Linked DNA regions of Homo sapiens: regions 1 and 2 are each linked to region 3. The links are contacts of gene promoters, found by promoter capture Hi-C in blood cells and fetal thymus (Javierre and others, 2016). All regions are on one chromosome and are shown on one strand. Each heading gives the region's core, a stretch centred on a gene start or on the middle of the fragment in contact. The rest is flanking DNA. Distances are from core to core; before and after follow the strand shown.

The links. Contacts are between HindIII fragments. The CHiCAGO score rates a contact against its expected background, and 5 or more counts as called.
Region 1: a contact is called between a fragment that was not itself captured here and the fragment with the promoter of TRMT10C in region 3, in 3 of 17 cell types (neutrophils, monocytes and total CD4 T cells). The highest score is 7.4, in neutrophils.
Region 2: a fragment that was not itself captured here is called in contact with the fragment with the promoter of TRMT10C in region 3 in 1 of 17 cell types (total B cells); the score reaches 6.4 in total B cells.

What each region holds. Positions count from the first base shown.
Region 1 is chr3:100,715,053-100,718,666 of GRCh38, forward strand. The region is part of intron 2 of TFG (trafficking from ER to golgi regulator); the gene reads left to right. Among named protein-coding and RNA genes, the nearest start is that of TFG, 7.4 kb to the left of the region's middle. The HindIII fragment of the contact is 5,880 bases long and covers 1-3,614 here.
Region 2 is chr3:100,649,031-100,652,584 of GRCh38, forward strand. ADGRG7 (adhesion G protein-coupled receptor G7) reads left to right here. Exons shown (of 16, transcript NM_032787.3): 11 at 665-777. Among named protein-coding and RNA genes, the nearest start is that of ADGRG7, 41 kb to the left of the region's middle. RefSeq lists an enhancer at 1,956-2,005. The HindIII fragment of the contact is 1,867 bases long and covers 1,369-3,235 here.
Region 3 is chr3:101,559,904-101,563,469 of GRCh38, forward strand. TRMT10C (tRNA methyltransferase 10C, mitochondrial RNase P subunit) reads left to right here and starts at 1,965. Exons shown (of 2, transcript NM_017819.4): 1 at 1,965-2,100. RefSeq lists enhancers at 1,951-2,020, 2,031-2,100. The HindIII fragment of the contact is 12,384 bases long and covers 1-3,080 here.

The DNA.
Region 1 (3,614 bases), core at 101-2,600, 850 kb before region 3:
ACCCACACCATCCTTGTTTTTAAATACTTTTACCTCTTAACATCTCTGACACTGCTTAACCTAGTTTTCTTATCACTAACAGTTTTTTCTCTGTCTGTGTTAGGGTTGGGCTTAAAGTAATGCCAGCAGATATAATAGAAATCTTAAAATCTGAGTGGTTTAATAGTTGAGAAATCTTTCAGGGATCCAGGTTGAAAGAAGCTGTTACCTTCAACACATGGCTTATAAGCTCACCATAGGCATTGACATTGGCAAGCAGATGAGTGAAGACAGAGTATGAAGAATCATATGGGAGATTTTACTCACTAGGCCTGATGGTGTTGTATGTCATTTCTGCCCTTATGACATTGGTCAGTACCCAGTTACATGGCTTTGCTAAGATGCAAATGGGTTGGGAAGTATAGTCCCTGGCTGAGCAGCCACTTAGCACAACTTATACTGTGGAGGAGAAGTGTAAATCACTGGTGATCAGTTAAATTGACCATCTAGCTAAAGGTATAATTCTCCTTTGTTTTTGTGATGTGTAGTCTAAGAATACCCAAAACAAATTTTTGAGAGTTGCCCATGTTAAGAAACAATAAAGGATAGTACTTTTTTCCTGTTTTCTTATGCTTATCATACATTGATTTGCACCTCTGTGACTTTGAAATGTGTGTCTTAATTTGATCAGTGAATTTTTTTTTTTTTTGAGACAGGGTCTCACTCTCATCCAGGCTACAGTGCAGTGGCATGATTATAGCTCATCATAACCTTTAACTCCTGTCCCCAGGCAATACTGCCAACCCGGCCTCCCAAAGGCATAAGCCACCATGCCCAGCCTACAATTCAGATTTTTAACTTTTTTTTTTTTTTAGCAAAGTCCCAAGAGTACTTTTTTTTTTAAATTTTGTTTTAATTGACAAATAATAATTGTACATATTTATGGGGTACATAGTAATGTTTCATTACATATAATGGGATTAGATCAGGGTAATTCGCATATCCATCACCTCAAATATTTATTTCTTTGGGTTAGAAACATTCAATATTCTCCTTCTAGCTATTTGAAATTATATAATATGTTATTGTTAACTGTAGTCATCCTATAGTGCTATAGAACACTGGAACTACTTCTATCTAGTTGTACTTTTGTGTCTTTTAATAAATCTCTCCCTATCCCTCTTTTCCCCTACCCTTTGCAGCCTCTACTGTCATCTGTTCTGCTTTTTACTTGTATAAGATCAACTTTTTTTAGCTTCCACATATGAGAGAGAGCATGTGGTATCTTTTTAACTTAATGTCTTCCAGTTCCATCCATGTTGCTGTGAATGACAGGACTTCATTCTTTTTTATGGCTGAATTGTATTCCATTGTGTATATATACCATATTTTCTTTATCAGTTAATCTGTTGTTAGACACTTAGGTTGATTCCATATCTTGACTATTGTGAATAGTGCTGCAGTAAAATGTGAGTGCAGATTTCTCTTCAATATACTGGTTTCCTTTCCTTTAGTTAAATATTCAGTAGTGGCATCGCTGAATTGTGTGTTAGTTCGATTTATAGTTTTTTGAGGAACCTTCATACTGTTCTCCCTAGTGGCTGTACTGTTGACATTCCTACCAATAATGTGTAAGAGTTCCCTTTTCTCTTCATTCTTGCCAGCATTTGTTATTTATCTTTTTGATAATAACCATCCTAACTGGGGTGAACCTTGTTGTGGTCTTCATTTTCCTGATATGTGTGCATTTCCCTGATGATTTGTGATTTTGAGCATTTTTTCATATATTTATTGACCATTTCTATGTCTTTTTTTGAGAAATGTCTGTTCAGATCATTTGCCGATTTTAAAATCGGATTGATTGTTTTTTAGCTGTTGAGATGTTTGAGTTCCTTCTATATTCTGAATATTCATCCTCTGCCAGATGAGTAGTTGTATTTCCTCCCATTCTGTAAGTTCTCTTTTCACTCTTGATTGTTTCCTTTGCTGTGCAGAAAAGTTTTCCAGTTTGAGATAATCATATTTATTTTTGCTTTTATTGACTGCACTTTTGAGGTCTTATTCATGAAATCTTTTCCCGACCTATTAAAGAGGTTATCCTTTTCCTAATGAGTGGTCTTGTCAAAAGTCAGTTGGCTATAGATAACATGGATTATGTTCTTTTGTTCTATGTGTTCTATTGATCTATGTGTTTGTTCTCTTGGTCAATGGGTCTGTTTTTATGTCAGTTCTGTTGGTCTGTGGGTCCGTTTTTGTGCCAGTCCATGCTTATTACAGCTTTGTAGTATATTTTGAGGTCAGTAAGTGTGACACCTTCAGCTTTGTTCTTTGCTCAGTATTGCTTTGACTGTCTGGGGTTGTATGTAGTTCTGTACAAATTTTATGGTTTGTTTTTAAATTTTTATGAATAATTTTATTGGTAGTTTGATAGGGATTGAATTGAATCTGTAAATTGCTTTGAGTAATTTTGTCATTTTAACAATATTTGTTCTTATATAAGCATGGGATGTCATTACATATGTATGCTCTTTGGTTTCTTTCATCAGTGTTTTTTTTTTTTTTTGTAGAGGTTTTTCATCTTCTTGGTTAAACTGCTTCCTAGATATTTAAAAAAATTTTTGTAGCTGTGGTTAATGGGATTGCATTTTTTATTTTTTATTGTATGTGTATAGAAACACTACTTATTTTTGTGTACTTATTTTGTTTCTGGCAGCTTTATTGAATTCATTTATTGGTTCTAAGGGTTTTGGTAGAGTTTTTAGGTTTTTGTTTATATAAGATTATGTCATCTGCAAACAGGGACAGTTTGCTTCCTTCCCAATTTGGATACCTTTTATTTTTTTCTCTTGCATAATTGCTCTGGCTAGTACTTGCTTAACTGTCTTTTTTTTATTTTTTATTTTTTTGTCTTGAGACAGGGTCTTGCTCTGTCTCCCAAGCTGGAGCGCAGTGGTGTGATCATGGCTCATTGAAGCCTTGAACTCCTGGGCTCAAGCAGTCCTTGCAACTCAGCCTCCCGTGTAGCTGGGACTGCAGGCATGTGCCACTGCACTCAGCTTCTTATTCTTAATGTTTATCAAAATGGGGGTCTCACTGTGTTGCCCAGGCTGGTCCTGAACTCCTGGGCTCAAGCGATCCTCCTGCCTTGGCCTGCCAAAGTACTGAGATTACAGGCATGAGCCAGTGTGCCTGGCCTTTAACTGCCTTTTTTCCCACTTGAAGATGCTTTGCCTTTATCTCAAACTGACCTCATTGACTGGCTTTCTCTTAACTACTGTTTAGGGCAAAGGTCAGCAAACATTTTCTTTAATAGATCAGAGAGAATAAATATTGTAGCTTTGTGGGTCACATAAGGCCTCTGTCTCATCTTTTTTTTACAATGTAAAAACCATTTTTCATTCACAGACCTATAACAACACAGGGATTTTGTCCGTTGGTCACAGTTCATGGACCCTTAGCTTGAGGTGTCCTCGTTGTAGTTTGTCTTCCACATTTAGTTACAACTTTGTATTTCATGGTTTTTTTTTTTTTTTTTTTTTTTTTTGAGACAAAGTCTTGCTTTGTCGTTTAGGCTGGAGTACAGTGGGGTGATCTTGGCTCACTGCAGCCTCCACATCCCAGGTTCAAGTGATTCT
Region 2 (3,554 bases), core at 1,052-3,551, 910 kb before region 3:
CTGCAACTTTATTTTTAGTGCATCAATTTAGATATACTTAGAGTCCAGTTACACATAAAAATAATGTCATGAATAAGTGAGGCAACTTTTGACAATTTAGATCTAATTCAAACAATTTTGATTTTAGACATCAAGGAAAAGTATAAATAGTTGACTTGTGAACCACATGGGACAGTATGGGTCCACTTAATATGTGGATTGTTTTCAATAAAAAAGTCTGCCCTCCACATTGGCAGGTTCTGCATCCATGAGGAAACGTAGATGGAAAATAACAGTATTTTCAGAGTGCAAAACTGGTATATGCAGGTCAGCTTTCCACATCAGCAGGTTGCACAGGACCAACTGCAGGACTTGAGTATCCATGGCTTTTGGCATCTGCAAGTTGTTCTGAAACCAGTCCCCCTGCAAATACCAAGACATGACTGTATATTTTTCCTTAACTGAATTAGTTAGATAATTATTCTCAAGCCTGTATACTTCAGGTAAACTGCTCAGCAATAAGGGGTTAATGTATTTCGCTTTTAAATATATCATGAGCTTTACAAAAGGAAGATATATCTGGCAACTGTCTGGTTATTTTGACCCATGTAACTCTGTGATGTTGACTTTCATTAACACTTCAGGGATGACTAATTAAAAATATGAGTCTTACCTTGTTTTTCAGACTTTCAAAAAGGATTATCAATATCCCAAATCACTTGACATATTATCCAACGTTGGATGTGCACTGTCTGTTACTGGTCTGGCTCTCACAGTTATATTTCAGATTGTCACCAGGTAAGAGCAGAAGCAGGCTCTTTTCAGAAGAGAAATTGCTATCTTGATATAATTTACTCTGAGAATTCTCATGAGTAGTGTCTTTGAACTAGGCAAGAACTCAGAGAGGTACTTATTTTACAGAGGAGGACATTTAGGCCTGGAAAGGCTAAGAAATACACACAAATAAATACGTAATTACAAATTGTGGCAAGTGCCTTGAAAGAAAATTATATGCCACTTATTTACAAGTTTGTCATGTAAAATTTATGTGGTCCTGCAGCTCATTAATGCTATAATTCCTCAGTGTTGAATAGAACCATGCCTAGCAATTTGTATTTGTTAAGGAAAGAGACATTGCAAACAGCAATTTTTTAAAAAAGTAATTTAAAAAATATATCAAGCTTTCAAATGGTGAAACGTTTTTCAAAAATATAGTTTTCAAATGGTGAAAGTTTTTGAATCCCATACATTAAATTCTAATTTTAAATAATGACCTATAAACAAATACTTCTCTCCACCTTGACCCCTTCATTTGAGGTCCAATTTTGTATCCCATTCATTATTTTTTGTCACATGCTACATTTTTTTAACTGCCTGCGGTCTTTTAGAAGCTTGTTCATTTATTAATTTACTCCGTTTACTGTGTGTTTCCTCTGTCAACTTCACATTTCATGTTTGTTTGGTCTTTCATGACATTGAAATTTTTCAAGCATCCAGGCCAGTTACTTTGAAAAATGTTCCACAATGAAGATTTGTCTGAAATTTTCCTCATGAAGAGATGCAGGTTAATTATTTTTGGTGGGAATACTGCAATCATGGAATTTTTTTTAGTGTGACACAACAAGAAGTGCGTATCAGTATGTCCCATTATTGTTGGCTGTAAGTTTGATTCCTCGTTTAAAGTGATGTCTGCCAGATTTCCACATTTTTTCCCTGTGTAAATAATAGATGACTCGTGGGGTGCCACTTTGAGGCTGCATGATATCCTGTTTCCCAAAAATCTTTTACTTAATGATCTTGTTACTCATCCTTACTGGAACAAATTATTACATTAAGTGGTTGAAAAATGGTGATTTTTCTAGGCTATCACTCTTTCTATATTTGTTTGCTATACTCTTTTGTAAAAAGCATACTTCCCAGTGTAGCCAGAGGGAGCCCCTTCATGTTGTTTTGCCACGTCTCAGTCTTTAGTCACTTCCTTATTTCAATCAAAAGCAAAATGATCATCTTTCACTTTCTCTGCCTCATACCTGAACCAGCCATTTCTCCAAAGAGCCAGAATTGTTTTCGATTCCTTTTCTTCCCCTTTTCACATTAAATGAGTCTCTTGCCATTCATTTAAAAGTTTTATAGTGAGTGCTTATGTTGTAAGGAGCTGAATACAAAACTATGAACAGACAGATAATCTCCCATCTCTCATGAAATATACACTGTTGGGGGGAAAAGGCAGACATTATAAAAATATCTACACAACTGAATATTACAAATTGTGGTAAGTGCCTTGAAGGAAAATTACATGTTTGTCATGTAAAATTAAATGCCTCTTAAATTTGTCTCATTATTTGTATTTCTACCATCACCACAGTTGTACTGACAATTATTTGGTCCCATAGGGATGAGTCATAGTTGCTGCATAACTAGTTTCTTTGCCAAAACCTCACTCTTTTCATTTGTCATCAGATTTTTTTCCTCTTTCATCAATATGTTTTCTAGCACAATTATGCAACCAAAGATACCACTAAAATTCATCAGGAAACAAAAATAAAAATAAACACCAGGCATGGAGGCTCACACCTATAATTCCAGCACTTTGGGAGGCCAAGGCAGGAGGATTGCTTGAGCCCAGGAGTTTGAGACAAGCCTGGGCAATACAGCAAGATCACATCTCAAACAAATTTTTTTTTTTAAAGAGAGAAAAAACAAAACAAAAATAAAGACAAAATTTTATTGATTTTAAAATCCTGAATTATAAAATTTTCTTTGTTCTTGGACAGGTTCCCATATAATAATAATGCACAGAATACAAACAGTCCCCTACTGACCATGGTTCAACTTACGATTTTTCAGCTTTAAGATGTTGCAAAAGTGATAGCATTCAGGATGTTTCTTGATTTATGATAGGGTTATGTCCCAATAAACCCATTGTAAATTGAAAATATGGTAAGGTGAAATGATATTTTTAGTTTTCGATGGGTTTGTTGTGATGCAATCTCATTGTAAGTTGAGGAGCATCTATATAGTAATAATCTATAAGAAGGGCCAGGCTATTTGAAAATCACCTCTTCTTCCTGTGGATTATAATTGATAAAATTAGATAAAAACTAGACTCTAATCTTACTTTTATATAAAAAGATTCTTCTGAGTACTTTTTGCAGTTCTGGTCATTAAACCTCTCAATAGATTTAATGAAATTTTGAATTGTCCAGAAATCTCAACTAAAATGTCAAGCAGATGGACTGAGTTCTGTTTGAATGAAAGCTTTTTTGTTCAGTGTGGGAATCCAAAGATCAAGCGAGGTCATGATGAAACATCGTAAAAACATAAAGAATACATAATGGGCAAATAGACTTCATCAAATTATGAGTTATTAAGAATAGAGAGGCATTTGAAGGTTAGAACTTTAGGCATAGTAATAAACCTGGGAAATGGTATTCCAAGAGGTCTTGCAGTCTGAAAAATCCAGAAGGCTTTAGATGGTAGTGAGTAGAGATTTTATAACTTTTATTGGCGAGGAACTGTCTGCCATAGTGTACATGAAAGTGTAACATGCCTTTAAGGGGATATAAGGATATATC
Region 3 (3,566 bases), core at 715-3,214:
GATCGCGCCACTGCACTCTGGCCTGGGTGAAAGAGCGAGACTCCGTCTCAAAAAAAAAAAACAAAAAAACGTATTTTGAAAATCACTGTGCTTTTTGTTGGAGGTAAGATGTCTGAAACCTGGAAATATTCTTAATCTAGAATAGGTCAGATCCCAGACATATTGAATAAATTATGTTCTGCTATATTTATAGAAACACTTCCAAAGATTTTTCACATAAAGAATCTTAGTAAACTTAACAGAATGAAATTTCCTTTACTTGACAAAGATCATATAGCAAAAACCTTCATAAAATATTAATGGAAAAACTTCAGATGTATCTCTTTAAAGAACAGGAACAAGAAAAAATAACCTCTACACTGCTATTTGTTATAACTACTAGACGATATTTATTCTTGATTTTTTTCCATGTTTGGGAGTAAACTCATGATTATTTTGCTATCACCACCTCACCTTTCTAACATGATAGTAATCAGTCTCTTAGACAAGATCTCGTTTTTTAAAATCATTTGGAAAAGACTATGCCTACCTTCTTTTATTTTAGTAAACTATATACAATATAAACATTTCCATTTTAGTCATTTTCAAGTGTACAGTTCAATGGCATTAAGTACATTCACGTTCTTGTACAACCATCACTACTATCCATCTCCAGAACTTTTTCATCATCCCATACTGAAAATTCATACCTATTAAACAGTAACTGCCCATTCTTCCCTTTCCCCAGCCCCTGGTAAACACTATTCTACTTTCTTTCTTTATGATTTGACTATTCTAGGCACTTCATATAGGTGGACTTATACAATATTTGTCCTTTTGTGCCTGGCTTATCTCAGTGTATAATGCCTCCAAAGTTTATCCATGTTGTACCATGTATCAGAACTTCATTCCTTTTTAAGACTGAATAATATTCCATTGTATGTACATGCAACATTTTTTAATCTATTCATCTGTTCATGGATATTTGGGTTGCTTCCACCTTTTGGTTATTATCAATAATGCTACAATGACATTAGAGTACAAGTGTCTGTTTGTGTCTCTGCTTTCAATTTCTTTGGGTATATTACTAGGAGTAGAATGGCTGCAGAATATGTTCATTCTGTGTTTGGTTACAAATATATGTGGAGGCTGAATTGGCCCCAAAGGCCACCAATTTACAAATGTGTTTTAATTTCATTTCACATTAAACTTTCCAAATGAGCTAGGAGGAGACAGAAACTTACCGTGGCTTATCACGTTCCAAGCATAGTGCCAGGTACTGGTGATAAACTGGTCAAAAAGATTAGGAGTTTAAAGTCCTAGCGTCAAGGAGTTTGAAGCTGAGTAAGAAGACGTGTGAAAAAAACATACTTTATTTTAGTACTCTGTCAGCAAATGTTTATAAATACAGGGCCCAAACAGAGAGTAGGTTGAAAAGAGGATTAGAAACAGTTTTTTTTTTTTTTTTTTTTTTTTTTTGAGACAGAGAGTCTTGCTCTGTCGCCCAGGCTGGAGTGCAGTGGCGCGATCTCAGCTCACCGCAACCTCCGCCTCCCAGGTTCAAGCGATTCTCCTGCCTCAGCCTCCCGAGCAACTGGGATTACAGGCGCGCGCCACCACACCTGGCTAATTTTTGTATTTTTAGTAGAGACGGGGTTTCACTATGTTGGCCAGGCTGGTCTCAAACTCCTGACCCCAAGTGATCCGCCCGCCTCGGCCGCCCAAAGCACTGGGATAACAGGCGTAAGCCAACTGGCCCGGCCCAGAAGAAGTTTTTAGGATATATGGAGGAAAACACAACACAACACAGCTACAACTCCGTGACAACTGAGAGCGTAGTCTTCGAGTACCCAGTTGCCTACTGACAGCCGTCTCCTCTAAGGCGCTTCTTTTAGCCAAGAAAGCGTTCTTTGCGTGCTGTGACGTAAAAAGCAGCGCCGGAAGGGAGAGGGCGGAACTTCCGGCTGAGCCCCAGCGACCGCTCTGGTCGGCTGTGTAGACTGTTGGGTAGGCTGCGTGCTAGCTTCGGCGCGGATCCCTGGGCGTCCGTACGTCGGAGTCCTTCGTCCTCCAGGGTCCCTGTTCTTTGCGCCAGCGGGAACCACTATCTCTGCACTCCTGGTAAGCGAGTTTCTTCTTTCGCCTAATGTGTGTGTTGGGGGTGGGAGGACGCCGGAGACGTTCCAAGATGCACTTAGTGGAGCATGTGCGTTCGGAAGGCCCACGGGTAAGAGGAAGCCCAGTGATTTTAATAAACTATAACTAGTACAGTACCTGAAACAAAATCAGTGGTTCCTGAAATGATGTACTTGATTGCTTTTTACAATTGGGGTTTTCATTTCTGTGGTATTCTAAGTCCTTGCCAGTTACAAGAATAAAACTTTTAAAACTCCTTCTGAAATCAATGTTTATTAGATTGGGGCCTGGGGACCCCAGTTAAATATTTCCGGGATTCTAAAGTAAATTGTTTTCTCTTTAAAGGGAGGCTGAGCCGGGCGCGGTGGCTCACGCCTGTAATCCCAGCACAATGAGAGGCCGAGGTGGGCGGATCACGAGGTCAGGAGATCCGAGACCATCCTGGCTAACACAGTGAAACCCCGTCTGTACTAAAAATACAAAATAGCCGGGCGTGGTGGCGGGTGCCTGTAGTCCCAGCTACTCGGGAGGCTGAGGCAGGAGAATGGCGTGAACCCTGGGAGGCGGAGCTTGCGCCGAGATCGCGCCACTATACTCCAGCCTGGAGTGACAGAGCGAGACTCCGTCTCAAAAAAAATAATAAAGGGAGGCTGAACTTTTTTTTTCTTTTTTTTTTTTTTAATGAAGGAAGCATCGATCTAGGGTATTAGAAAAATATTTGCGTGATTACTGTGAGCCAAATACTGTCAAGCATTGGATTCAATGTTAACATTATAGACAAAGTCCTTGTCCTCATGGACACTAGTTAGTCCTTACCATCTAGTGAGGCAAATAGATAACCAGGCAATTACAGTGCAGTGTTAGAAGTACTGTCATAGGCACCAGAGTGCTGTGAAAAGTAATGGTGGAATACTTGAAGTGTGAGGTGAAGAATAGCTAGAGATGCTGCTGACCTGGCCGCAATAAGCTTAGAAATATATGTTGGGAACAATACCAATGGATAGCAATATCCCTTGAAACAGAACATTGAAGGAGGATCAGATTGTGAAGCAAAGGTAGAGGGGTTATTTCGATTTGTTGCGTTTGAGGTGTTTTTTGTTTGTTTTTGTTGTTTTGAGACAGTCTTACTCTGTCGCTCACTGCAACAGATTTTGTTGCAAAATCTCGGCTCACTGCAACTTCCGCCCCCCTTATTCAAGCGATTCTTCTACATCAGCCTCACGAGTACCTGGGAAGTAGAAGAATCGCCCCACTTCAGCCTCACGAGTACCTGGGATTACAGGCATGCGCCACCACACCTGGCTAATTTTTGTATTTTTAGTAGAGACAGGGTTTCGCCATGTTGGTCAGGCTGGTCTCAAACTCCTGACCTCAAGCGATCCTCCCTCCTCGGCCTTCCAAAGTGCTGGGATTACAGGAGTGAGCCACTGCACCCGGCCTGCATTTGAGAT